Regions from separate parts of the Homo sapiens genome. Here regions 1 and 2 are each linked to region 3. Evidence: promoter capture Hi-C in human tissues and cell types (Jung and others, 2019). All regions are on one chromosome and are shown on one strand. Each heading gives the region's core, a stretch centred on a gene start or on the middle of the fragment in contact. The rest is flanking DNA. Distances are from core to core; before and after follow the strand shown. Region 1 overlaps KDM2A (lysine demethylase 2A). Region 2 holds the start of POLD4 (DNA polymerase delta 4, accessory subunit). Region 3 holds the start of RBM14 (RNA binding motif protein 14).

What was found. The method cuts DNA at HindIII sites, captures the fragments that hold promoters and counts their contacts. A contact is called where the count stands out against the background at its distance.
Region 1: a contact is called between a fragment that was not itself captured here and the fragment with the promoter of RBM14 in region 3, in 1 of the 25 tissues and cell types used here (hippocampus).
Region 2: a contact is called between the fragment with the promoter of POLD4 here and the fragment with the promoter of RBM14 in region 3, in 2 of the 25 tissues and cell types used here (ovary and spleen).

Annotation. Positions count from the first base shown.
Region 1 is chr11:67,167,662-67,170,910 of GRCh38, reverse strand. All of the region lies in intron 2 of KDM2A (lysine demethylase 2A), which reads right to left. Among named protein-coding and RNA genes, the nearest start is that of KDM2A, 50 kb to the right of the region's middle. The HindIII fragment of the contact is 4,890 bases long and covers 1-3,249 here.
Region 2 is chr11:67,352,197-67,355,198 of GRCh38, reverse strand. It overlaps POLD4 (DNA polymerase delta 4, accessory subunit), which reads left to right and starts at 1,653. Exons shown (of 4, transcript NM_021173.5): 1 at 1,653-1,896; 2 at 2,122-2,211; 3 at 2,397-2,508. The coding sequence starts at 1,800. All of the region lies in intron 2 of LOC100130987 (a long non-coding RNA gene), which reads right to left. RefSeq lists a silencer at 1,336-1,585 and enhancers at 1,766-1,815, 1,809-2,390, 2,391-2,973. The HindIII fragment of the contact is 15,541 bases long and covers 1-3,002 here.
Region 3 is chr11:66,615,154-66,618,570 of GRCh38, reverse strand. RBM14 (RNA binding motif protein 14) reads right to left here and starts at 1,941. Exons shown (of 3, transcript NM_006328.4): 1 at 1,514-1,941. The coding sequence starts at 1,850. RBM14-RBM4 (RBM14-RBM4 readthrough) reads right to left here and starts at 1,941. Exons shown (of 2, transcript NM_001198846.2): 1 at 1,514-1,941. The coding sequence starts at 1,850. RefSeq lists enhancers at 1,696-1,925, 1,058-1,991, 2,356-2,465. The HindIII fragment of the contact is 10,275 bases long and covers 5-3,417 here.

The DNA of each region.
Region 1 (3,249 bases), core at 586-3,085, 550 kb before region 3:
GCTGACAGTCCTAACCACTACTCTATGCTACAAAAATCCACTTGAGACTTCGACCAGACCAGTCTCTTAAGGTAACCGGAAGAAATTGTCAAGGACGACCTCAGATACAGCTTAAATGGGTCTGGCAGAGAGAGAGAAGGTGTAGTGGTGGGACCAGTCAGCAACAAAGAATGTCTTTTAGTCAGAAAACCATGCTTGGGCCAGGTGCGGTGGCTCACACCTGTAATCCCAGCACTTTCAGAGGCTGAGGCGGGCGGATCACTGGGTGAGGAGATCGAGACCATCCTGGCTAACATGGTGAAACCCCGTTTCTACTAAAAATACAAAAATATTAGCCCGGTGTGGTAGCAGGTGCCTGCAGTCCCAGCTACTCGGGAGGCTCAGGCAGGAGAATGGTGCGAACCCAGGAGGCGGAGCTTGCAGTGAGCTGAGATCGCGCCACTGCACTCCAGCCTGGGCGACAGAGCGAGACTCCATCTCAAAAAAAAAAAAAAAAAAAAAAGAAAGAAAGAAAAAAAAAAAACCCCATGCTTGGTAGGATAAAGGATTAGCAAAGGATCTTCCCTGGGGTAAGAGATTTCTGATATTTGTTAAGGGACACTACATTTCTAGCTATATTATTGTTTATCTAATATTCCACCATTCCTGGTTTCTAATTCTAGCTTTTCGTTGACAAACTACTGGTTGTTCAACTATTCTGGCTGAAATGAAAACACTGCTATTTCTAATCAGCATTTTCTATCACAAGGTGTTTGAACTCGGTACATTTATTGTGTGTATGCCATGAAAATGTGTTCTCACTTCCTATATTTGTAGTTATAATTTATTATAGACCTCTAAAAAGATGAAACTGTGGGCCAGGCATGGTGACTCACGCCAGTAATCACAGCGCTCTGGGAGGCCGAGGTGGGCAAATCACGAGGTCAGGAGTTCGAGACCAGCCTGGCCAGCATGGTGAAACCCCATCTCTACTAAAAATACAAAAATTAGCCTGCCATGGTGGCACGTGCCTGTAATCCCAGCTACTCAGGAGGCTGAGGCAGGAGACTCACTTAAATCCAGGAGGCAGAGGTTGCAGTGAGCCGAGATCTCGCCACTGTACTCTAGCCTGAGTGACAGAGTGAGACTCCGTCTCAAAAAAAAAAAAAAAAGAGAGAGAGAGAGAGAGAGAGAGAGAAGGAGAGAGAGAGAGAGAAGAAAAAAGAAAAAAGAAAGAAAAAAGAAACCAAGTGATGGGCTGAGCGCAGTGGCTCATGCCTATAATCTCAGCACTTTGGGAGGCTGAGGCAGGAGGATCACCTAAGGTCAGGAGTTCAAGAGCAGCCTGGCCAACATGGTGAAAACCCTTCTCTACCAAAAAACAATTAGCCAGGTATGGTGGCTCAGGCCCGTAATCCCAGCTACTCAGGAGGCTGAGGCACGAGAATCACTTGAACCTGGGAGGCAGAGGTTGCAGTGAGCCGAGATGGTGCCACTGCATTTCAGCCTGGGCAACAGGAGCGAAACTTCATCTCAAAAAAAAAAAAAAAAGAAAAAGAAAGAAAGAAAGAAACCAATCTTGTCACTATTAGATTTTCATGTCTCACACTGTGATACGATTTAAAAAAAAAAAATTTAGGGCATTGTTTTGTAAAGTTATATAAAGCTACATGGATTAGGCCGGGTGCAGTGGCTCACGCCTGTAATCCCAGCATTTTGGGAGGCCAAGGCAGGTGGATTACGAGGTCAGGAGTTCAAGGCCAGCCTGGCCAAGATGTTGAAACCCCATCTCTACTAAAAATACAAAAATTGGCCAGGCGCGGTGGCAGGCGCCTGTGATCCCAGCTACTCAGGAGGCTGAGGCAAGAGAATCGCTTGAACCCCGGCAGCAGAGGTTGCAGTGAGCTGAGATCACACCACTACACTCCAGCCTGTGCGACAGAGTGAGACTCCATCTCAAAAAAAAAAAAAAAAAAAAAACTACATGGATTAAATCTGAATCTTTGCAACATATACCAAATCCCCACTTCATAGCCTTAATATGTACTTGAATAAATAAATACATTTTAAAGGAAAAAGCAACCTCAGGCTTTCACTCTGCTCTCCCACAACATATGAATGCATACATATCCAAAAAATCAACTGAACTTTAAAACGCTGTTGCTTTCATTTTCTTCTTTGCAACCTTTTGAAAACCCAGCACTGCTGCCAGGTCACACACTGGGCCATATGTGGATAGACGGACATTGCTGTCTATCCCCCCGACCGTGTGTGTGTGTGTGTGTGTGTGTGTGTGTGTGTGTGTGTGTGTGTGTGTGTGTGTGTGTGTGTGTGTGTGTGTGTGTGTGTATAATTCATACAAGACTGTGTGTGTGTGTGTGTGTGTATTATAATTCATACAAGACCATGCTGAATATAGAAAAAATAGCCAGACACTCTGTATACAAAAATTAAAATGTAGTCCTAGCACTCAAGAAGATTGCTGGCCACTAGGGGGCAACAAATATGTAAATAAATTATAGAATTACAATTTAATGTGCTATGTATTAAGACAGGTAGATACAAATGTTATTGAAGCCCAGTAGGAAGAACAACTAACACAGAGGGTTTGGGGGAAGCTCCACCTAAGAAGCCACATAAGAAAAATGCTGATTCATTCAGCATAACTTCACTGGACATCTACCAAGTTCCAAAGACCATAGATACAGACTGTGTTGCTCCTCTATAGCAGTGATCTCTTCAAATTTTAGGGGGTTTCTCTTCACTTACTAGATTTATCAGTATCTCCTTATTAATAAGATATATATAAAACTTTCTTCTAAAATAAAAGGTTATACAAAGTTTGATAATTTCATATCTCATGATGGATTTTAATTAAAATGCCCTAAGGAAGTATAAAAAGAGTCGGAATCACTGCCTTACAATGACTAAGCCTTAGGCCCAAGTTTTTATCTTTTGATCTATATAAAACTTTTTGTCCCTAAATGATAAATGGCCTGAGCACAGAGAATAAGGAAAAACACATGTTTACTTTTAACATAACTGCCATATATATTACAAAGAAGATGCAGTGATAAATTAACATGGCTGAAAAGCTTGCATTTCTTTTACTGAAAGGTCAGCCTTCAAATACATTCTGGAAAAGATCAAATTCTACAGAGATCAACAGTACATAGAACAGTTTCCATACATGAAAAATGTTAGATCACAATAATTCCAACAACCAGATAATGTAACCCATAAATAGAAGGTGTCTACAGAATTTAGCAG
Region 2 (3,002 bases), core at 404-2,903, 740 kb before region 3:
TTAGTCCGCAAGGCAGATGGGGGGATTAGACTAGGCCCAGCCCAAACAATACAGCAGAAAGGGCCCTCCAGCTCCATGCAGTGCCCCCACAAGCTCCCTCCTCTAGGACGCCGATGGGGAGAGCCAGGCAGGACGTGGACCCTGAAGACATGGCCTGCTCCTCTGCCTCCCCTCTGGTGGTCTCCTTTCCAGAGCAGCTTCCTCCCTTGTGCCCACGTGTACCAGTGGCTTAGCCCTCTTCCAGTGCAGAACACCCAGACCCCAGAGCAGGGAAAGGAGGAGGCAGAGGCCTCTGAGCAGGCAGCAGCCCAGGAGTCTGTGCCCCACCCTCCCAGTATCCCTGGAAGGAAGAACCGGATGGGATCTCTGGAGGGTGATTAGAGCTGGGCTGGTCCCTGTGCTGGTTCCCAGACTCCCACTGGCCAGTACTTTTGCCTCCTGCCAGGAAGTTGGTGAGGGGGAGGCAGCAGTATGGGTGAGTCAGTGATGACAGGAGCCCAAGGGACAAAGGTCATGGGTGGAGAATTGAGAGACATTGTTTACAGCAGTCCACCTCCTCCAGGAGGCCTTCCAATGCTAATCATCCCTGTGGTCCTAACCAATCTCTGACCCACCCTTTCCCTCTTCTGGTAGGAATTATAGCCTCTCACTGACAACTGTGCATCTGTCTGCCTTGTGACAGTGAGCTCCTGGGGTGCAAGAGAGACTGTGGTTTGATTGGGGCCCTACAATGCCTGTGACTATCAGCAGTGATAATCATTTAGCTATACTTCCTACTTTCAAAAACTTTTTGACATCTATTTTAATTAACATGTGGGAAAGTGCTTAGAACAGTACTTGGCACATGGTACGTGCAATGAGTGTTAGGTTTATTATTAATATTTTCTGCTCAGACTCACATTATTGTGAGAGACAGGGCAGATTTTGCCAGTGAAGAACTAGGGATCCAAACACATTGTGGTGGGGGGACCAGACCCTTGCTCTGCCTTCCTACTCAGTATGGAATCTTCCTGACTGGTGGGGCGGGCCGGACACGACTTGGGACCCCAGGAGAGTCAAAACGGCAAACACTTACTCGGACTAAGAGTGGGCAGCATCTTTGGGCACAGACTGTGAGAAAGGAGGTTTCAGAACCCATGGGCTTCTCCAGCCAGGTCTCCTGGGGCCAGTGGGGGTTGGGTGGGAGCCGGGAAGGGGCCTGGATTAGCCCAAACTCTCTTCAGACCTCCAGACCTGCCCCCACAAGGCGGGGCGGGCCAAAGGACCGAGTGAAGGCTCCAGCTGGACTCTAGGGAGTTACAAACTGGCCACGGGGATTAGCGAAGCTGAAAAGAACATTTGCCTAGGAAGGGAAAACGGGAAGTGAGAGGCTGAAGATAACTCTCCTGAAGTCTCTCGGGACCCACAGCAGACCAATGGGGGCCGGGGAAGGTGGTGAAGTCGGGGCATCCCGACAGGTCCCCCGCCCCAGCCTGCCCCTCCTCCCGCGGCCCACAGCTGAGGCACCGCCCCGCCCCTCACCCTACACTGCCTACCATTGGCTAGCGCCAGGGCCCCGCCCCGCATAGGCGGCCTGCCATTGGCTGAAGTCTTTCCTGTTTGCGTGCTTTTGGGGGTGGGGGAGGCGTCCCTCCCTGGACCCCGGCGACTTCCTCTCTCGGTTTGTCTGGGTCATCTTGTCTGCCCGCCGCTGGCCTGGCCCCGTCTGTCTCTCTCAGCAGCTGTCTTTCTCGCGCCCACTGGCCGGTCTCTCCTCTTCCCCGCAGTTGCCTCCTTCTCTGCCTGCCTGGGTGGCCGCCATGGGCCGGAAGCGGCTCATCACTGATTCCTACCCGGTTGTGAAGAGGAGGGAGGGGCCCGCTGGGCACAGCAAGGGGGAGCTGGCACCCGAGCTAGGTCTCTGAGGTGTGAGGGAGGCAGGAGGAGTGGACACGGAGGGGCCTAGAGGAGGCCCCTAGAGGGGCGGAGGGGCCGATGGAAAGGGAAAGGTGGCCTGTCCTCCCCTCCCGACACCAGGTCTAGCTGCGGGGTGGCAGAGGCAAAGCGGTGGTGAGGAAGGCTGGGAGGTGAGGGGCAGGAGACTGAAGCCAACCTCGTACTGAAGAGCAGCTGTCATTGCAGGGGAGGAGCCCCAGCCCCGCGACGAGGAGGAAGCGGAGCTGGAGCTGCTGAGGCAGTTTGACCTGGCCTGGCAGTACGGGCCCTGCACCGGTGAGAACCCACCCAGCCCCACGGAGGCGCCTCTCCCAGCCAGTCACCCACACGTCTCTGAAGTCACCCAAGCGCTTGCGTGACTCTGACCCTCAGGAACTGTCTCCCCCCAACACACACATTCTCCAGCTCAGACTCTACCCCACCCCCCACAAGTCTCCAGAGTCTTCTTCCCACCCTGGCAGGGATCACACGGCTGCAGCGCTGGTGTCGGGCCAAGCAGATGGGCTTGGAGCCTCCCCCAGAGGTGTGGCAGGTGCTGAAGACCCACCCCGGAGACCCCCGCTTCCAGTGCAGGTCAGAGACAGGCCGGGAGGGCTTTCAGGGGAGCCAGGGCCTTCTCCAGGCACTGTCACCCTGCTGTCCTGACCTGAGGGAGAAATGGATGGAGGGTTGGAAGGCCTTGCTGAACAGGCAAGAAGATTCTATGAGGTGCCTGGCTCAGGAGGACACGCCACTATAATAATTCTTTTTTTTTGAGACAGAGTCTTGCTCTGTTGCCCAGGCTGGAGTGCAGTGGCGCGATCTCGGCTCACTGCAAACTCCGCCTCTCGGGTTCACGCCATTCTCCTGTCTCAGCCTCCCAAGTAGCTGGGACTACAGGCGCCCGCCAACACGCCCGGCTAATTTTTTCTATTTTTAGTAGAGACAGGGTTTCACCGTGTTAGCCAGGATGGTCTTGATCTCCTGACCTCGTGATCCCACCCACCTCAGCCTCCCAAAGTGCTGGGATTACAGGCGTGAGCCACCACACCCGGCCAATAATTCTTACCTCTACAAGCTAGTGGGGG
Region 3 (3,417 bases), core at 692-3,191:
TCCATGCACCATACAGCCTGCCTCAGAGCACCCAGCAGGAAAGCCCGATTCCGGATAGTCGTGGACTTGTATAACCTGAGTTGAGGAAAATAGAATGCAGTATTAATGCAGAACAAGGACTTGTTCCTAGTAGTGGACACTATGACCCTTTATATTTCCCCCACTTAAAGGACTAGGAATGGCCCCAAACATGTGCCTTTCCAGGACAGCAAATGAAATATCTTGGTGGGATAAATAAGCACTTGCACCCACATTTATTTCCTATCCCTGAAACTTCTCACACAGGGTATGAGCAGGTATGAACCCACCAGGAGTAGGGCATCAGATACTCCCAGGCTGCATCTTCCAAAATGACAGGGCAAAGTTAACTCTGATCTGTTCCCAAGTGGAGCAGAGACTGGCCACATACACAACGGCTGTCCCACCAAATCTTGCCAATGTAAAAGATAAAGAGCTTAAGGGATAAAAACTCAAGCTATGAAAAAGTCAACTGGGTCCCTAGTCAGGCTTAAATTATGGTGACACATTTTTCTCGAAGAAAAGGCACCGGGATCTGCCCTGAGAATCAGACTACTCAAGCAATGACTACTACTGATTCAGTAAACCGTGTTTAGCCACTGTTTAATGAAGAGCTCTCACAGACCCCTCCCCAGGACCCCCTCAGCCAGAGTATGCCCCCCTGCAAAGTCACCAAGCTTATAAAAGAATGACACTGCCCTAGGGCACTGGCTTGGCATGTAAAGACTACGCAGAAGGGGACTTCATAAAACAAGCTTTCTTGCACATGCAAAAGGCTGGGGTTTCCAGTTGACAGATGTAAAATCGAGCCCAAAGAAAAACCCCAAGTTTGAGGGAGGAGAAAAGCACAGAGCTGCCACGCCTAACCTACCTAATATTGAAAGGCCAAAGTGATTCGGAAGGGGCCCCTCTCGTACCCACGTGTAACTGTGCCCATGAGTAGACCCATGCCAGACAAGACTAAAAGACCCCAGCCCGAGAAACGTCCAAGGGCCCCGTTACCTTCCGCTTGAGCACATTCATCGGGAGGGAACAGGAGGGCGGCCTTGGGGCGTCAGCCCCCACCTTTTCCCTCTTCCCTTGCTCTGACCGACGTCTGGAGAGGAAGTGGGGAAGTGGAGAAATCTTCCCCGCTTCATGATCCGGCTTGTGCCCGTCACTTCCCAATTTCCGCTGGGTGCCAGGCCCAGGAGACCAGGAGAAGGCGCGCCCCCGGAACACTCGCAAGGCTCTCAGGCGCGTCCCCGGCCCCGTAGCTTGGCTCGCAGTGGCCGCCGCACCCACCCAGAGCCGCTTCCTCCTACTTGGTGGACGGTTCCTGGACCGCAGGGGAGGAGGGTGGCTCTACCCAACGCGCCCCCAACACCTCCGACCTGCTCCCGCGCACTTCCCCACCCCTCCCAACCGCGCAGTGACCGACCCCCGGGTAAGGGGCGTGGCTAACAGGCAGAGTGCCCCGAGCGCGCCCCCGCCCCCGAGCGCGCCTCCGCGTTACCTTTCACCACGTCACACTCGATGACGCGTCCGCGGCGCTCGAAGAGGCTGCGCAGTTCCTGGCTCGTGCATGCAGCCGACACATTGCCCACGAAAATCTTCCAAGTATTAAGAGGCCTTGGGCGCGACATCTCCACCACGAGCGCGCGCCCCGGCCGCAGCTCGTGGCCGTGCAGGGCTTCGATGGCGCGCAGCGCGCCCGCGTTCTCGCGCATGTGCACGAAGGCGAACTGTTTCATGACGGCGCAGCTCATGACCGTGCCGTAGGGCGCAAAGAGGGCTGCCAGCTCCTCCGGAGTCGTATCCGCCCCGTCGACGTTGCCCACGAATATCTTCATTTTGTCGCCGCAGCCACCTTCCTGGAGAGCCCGGACCTCTCCTCCAGCGACAGGCAAGACGTCCGAACGACCGGCAGTCCTCCTCAGGAATGGCTGGCGACCGAGAACCCCGCCGCGCAGGCGCCCTGGCCTAGCCAATGGGGACTCGCATCCCGCGCGTCCAGCGACCAATCAGAAACGCTGAGGGAAGATGTGCTCAGGCACAGCCAATCCCAGAGGGCCTAGAGCCCGCTCGTTAGCTGAGGGGGTGGGAAAGGGACGACCAACCGCCACAGCCCGTGGCGGGAGAGGGGGTTGGGAAGAAGAGGGAGGGCTGAAGAGAGGAGAACGCGCGCGAGCGGCGCCGGCGGCAGAGAGGCCTAGTCTGTAAGGCGGTCTCTGGCCCGGGTGGGGCTGGGACCGGCGGGCTCCCAGGAAAACTTTGTACAATTGGAAGTCAGGGCTCCTCCCATTCTGGAAGCCCTGTCCAAACCCGCGCCTGGGGGTTGCCGCGTGAGTGTACGGGGGAAGGCCGGGCCTGGCGGGAGAAACCAGGACAGGCGCCTTGAGTCGGCAAACGGCTCCCAGGACTGTGCTGAGCACCGCGAGGGGACCTGAGGCAGGCCCCGGAGAAGCCCTCGTGCCATTAATTGATTCTTTGGAAACATTCCCTGGGGTTGCTGAGGTCCTGGCAGCCGGTGAAAAATCAAAGGCCTCTGCCCTGATGGAATTCCCAGTCAAGAAATAATGGAATGACGTTATTGTATGTTGAAGGTTTTCATAATAAACAGTTTAATAAACGAGAAAATTAATTCTGCAGGAAGCAAAAGTTGAGCCTTAAAAAAAATTTTAGTCCGGGAGCGGTGGCTCACGCCTGTAATTCCAGCACTTTGGGAGACCAAGGCAAGCAGATCACCGGAGGTCAGGAGTTCAGGACCAGCCTGGCCAAAATGGTGAAACCCCGTCTCTACTAAAAATACAAAATTAGCCGGGTGTGGTGGTGCGCGCCTGTAATCCCAGCTACTTGGGAGGCTGAGGCAGGAGAATCACTTGAACCCGGAAGGCGGAGGTTGCAGTGAGCCAAGATCACGCCACTGCACTCCAGCATGGGCGACAGTGAGATTCCGTCTCAAAAATTTTTTTAAACAGATTTGAGTATGTAAATAAGATTGTTGCATGGCAGACAACATCAAAAACATAGACATGTGACAAACTCAGGGAAATATTTGCCTACGTGTTCAGTCAACAAATAGCACCTACCATGTGGACACCACCAAGAATATAGCAGTGAACAAAAAAAAATGACAGAAATCCCAACCTTCTTGGATCTTATGGTGGGGAGAAACAGGCAAGAAATAAGTAAAACATAAGCGTGTTAGATGGTGATGAGGACTTGGAGTAATCAAGGGAACTAAGCCATCCTCTGAGGGAAGATCATGCCGGCCAGAAAGTACAAGTCAAAGAGTGCTGGGGCAGAAGCAAATCTGGTTCAAGGAAGAGTCAAGAGCCAGTATGGGCCAGGCCCGGTGGCTCACGCCTGTAATCCCAGCACTTTGGGAGGCTGAGGCGGGCGGATCACCTGAGGTCA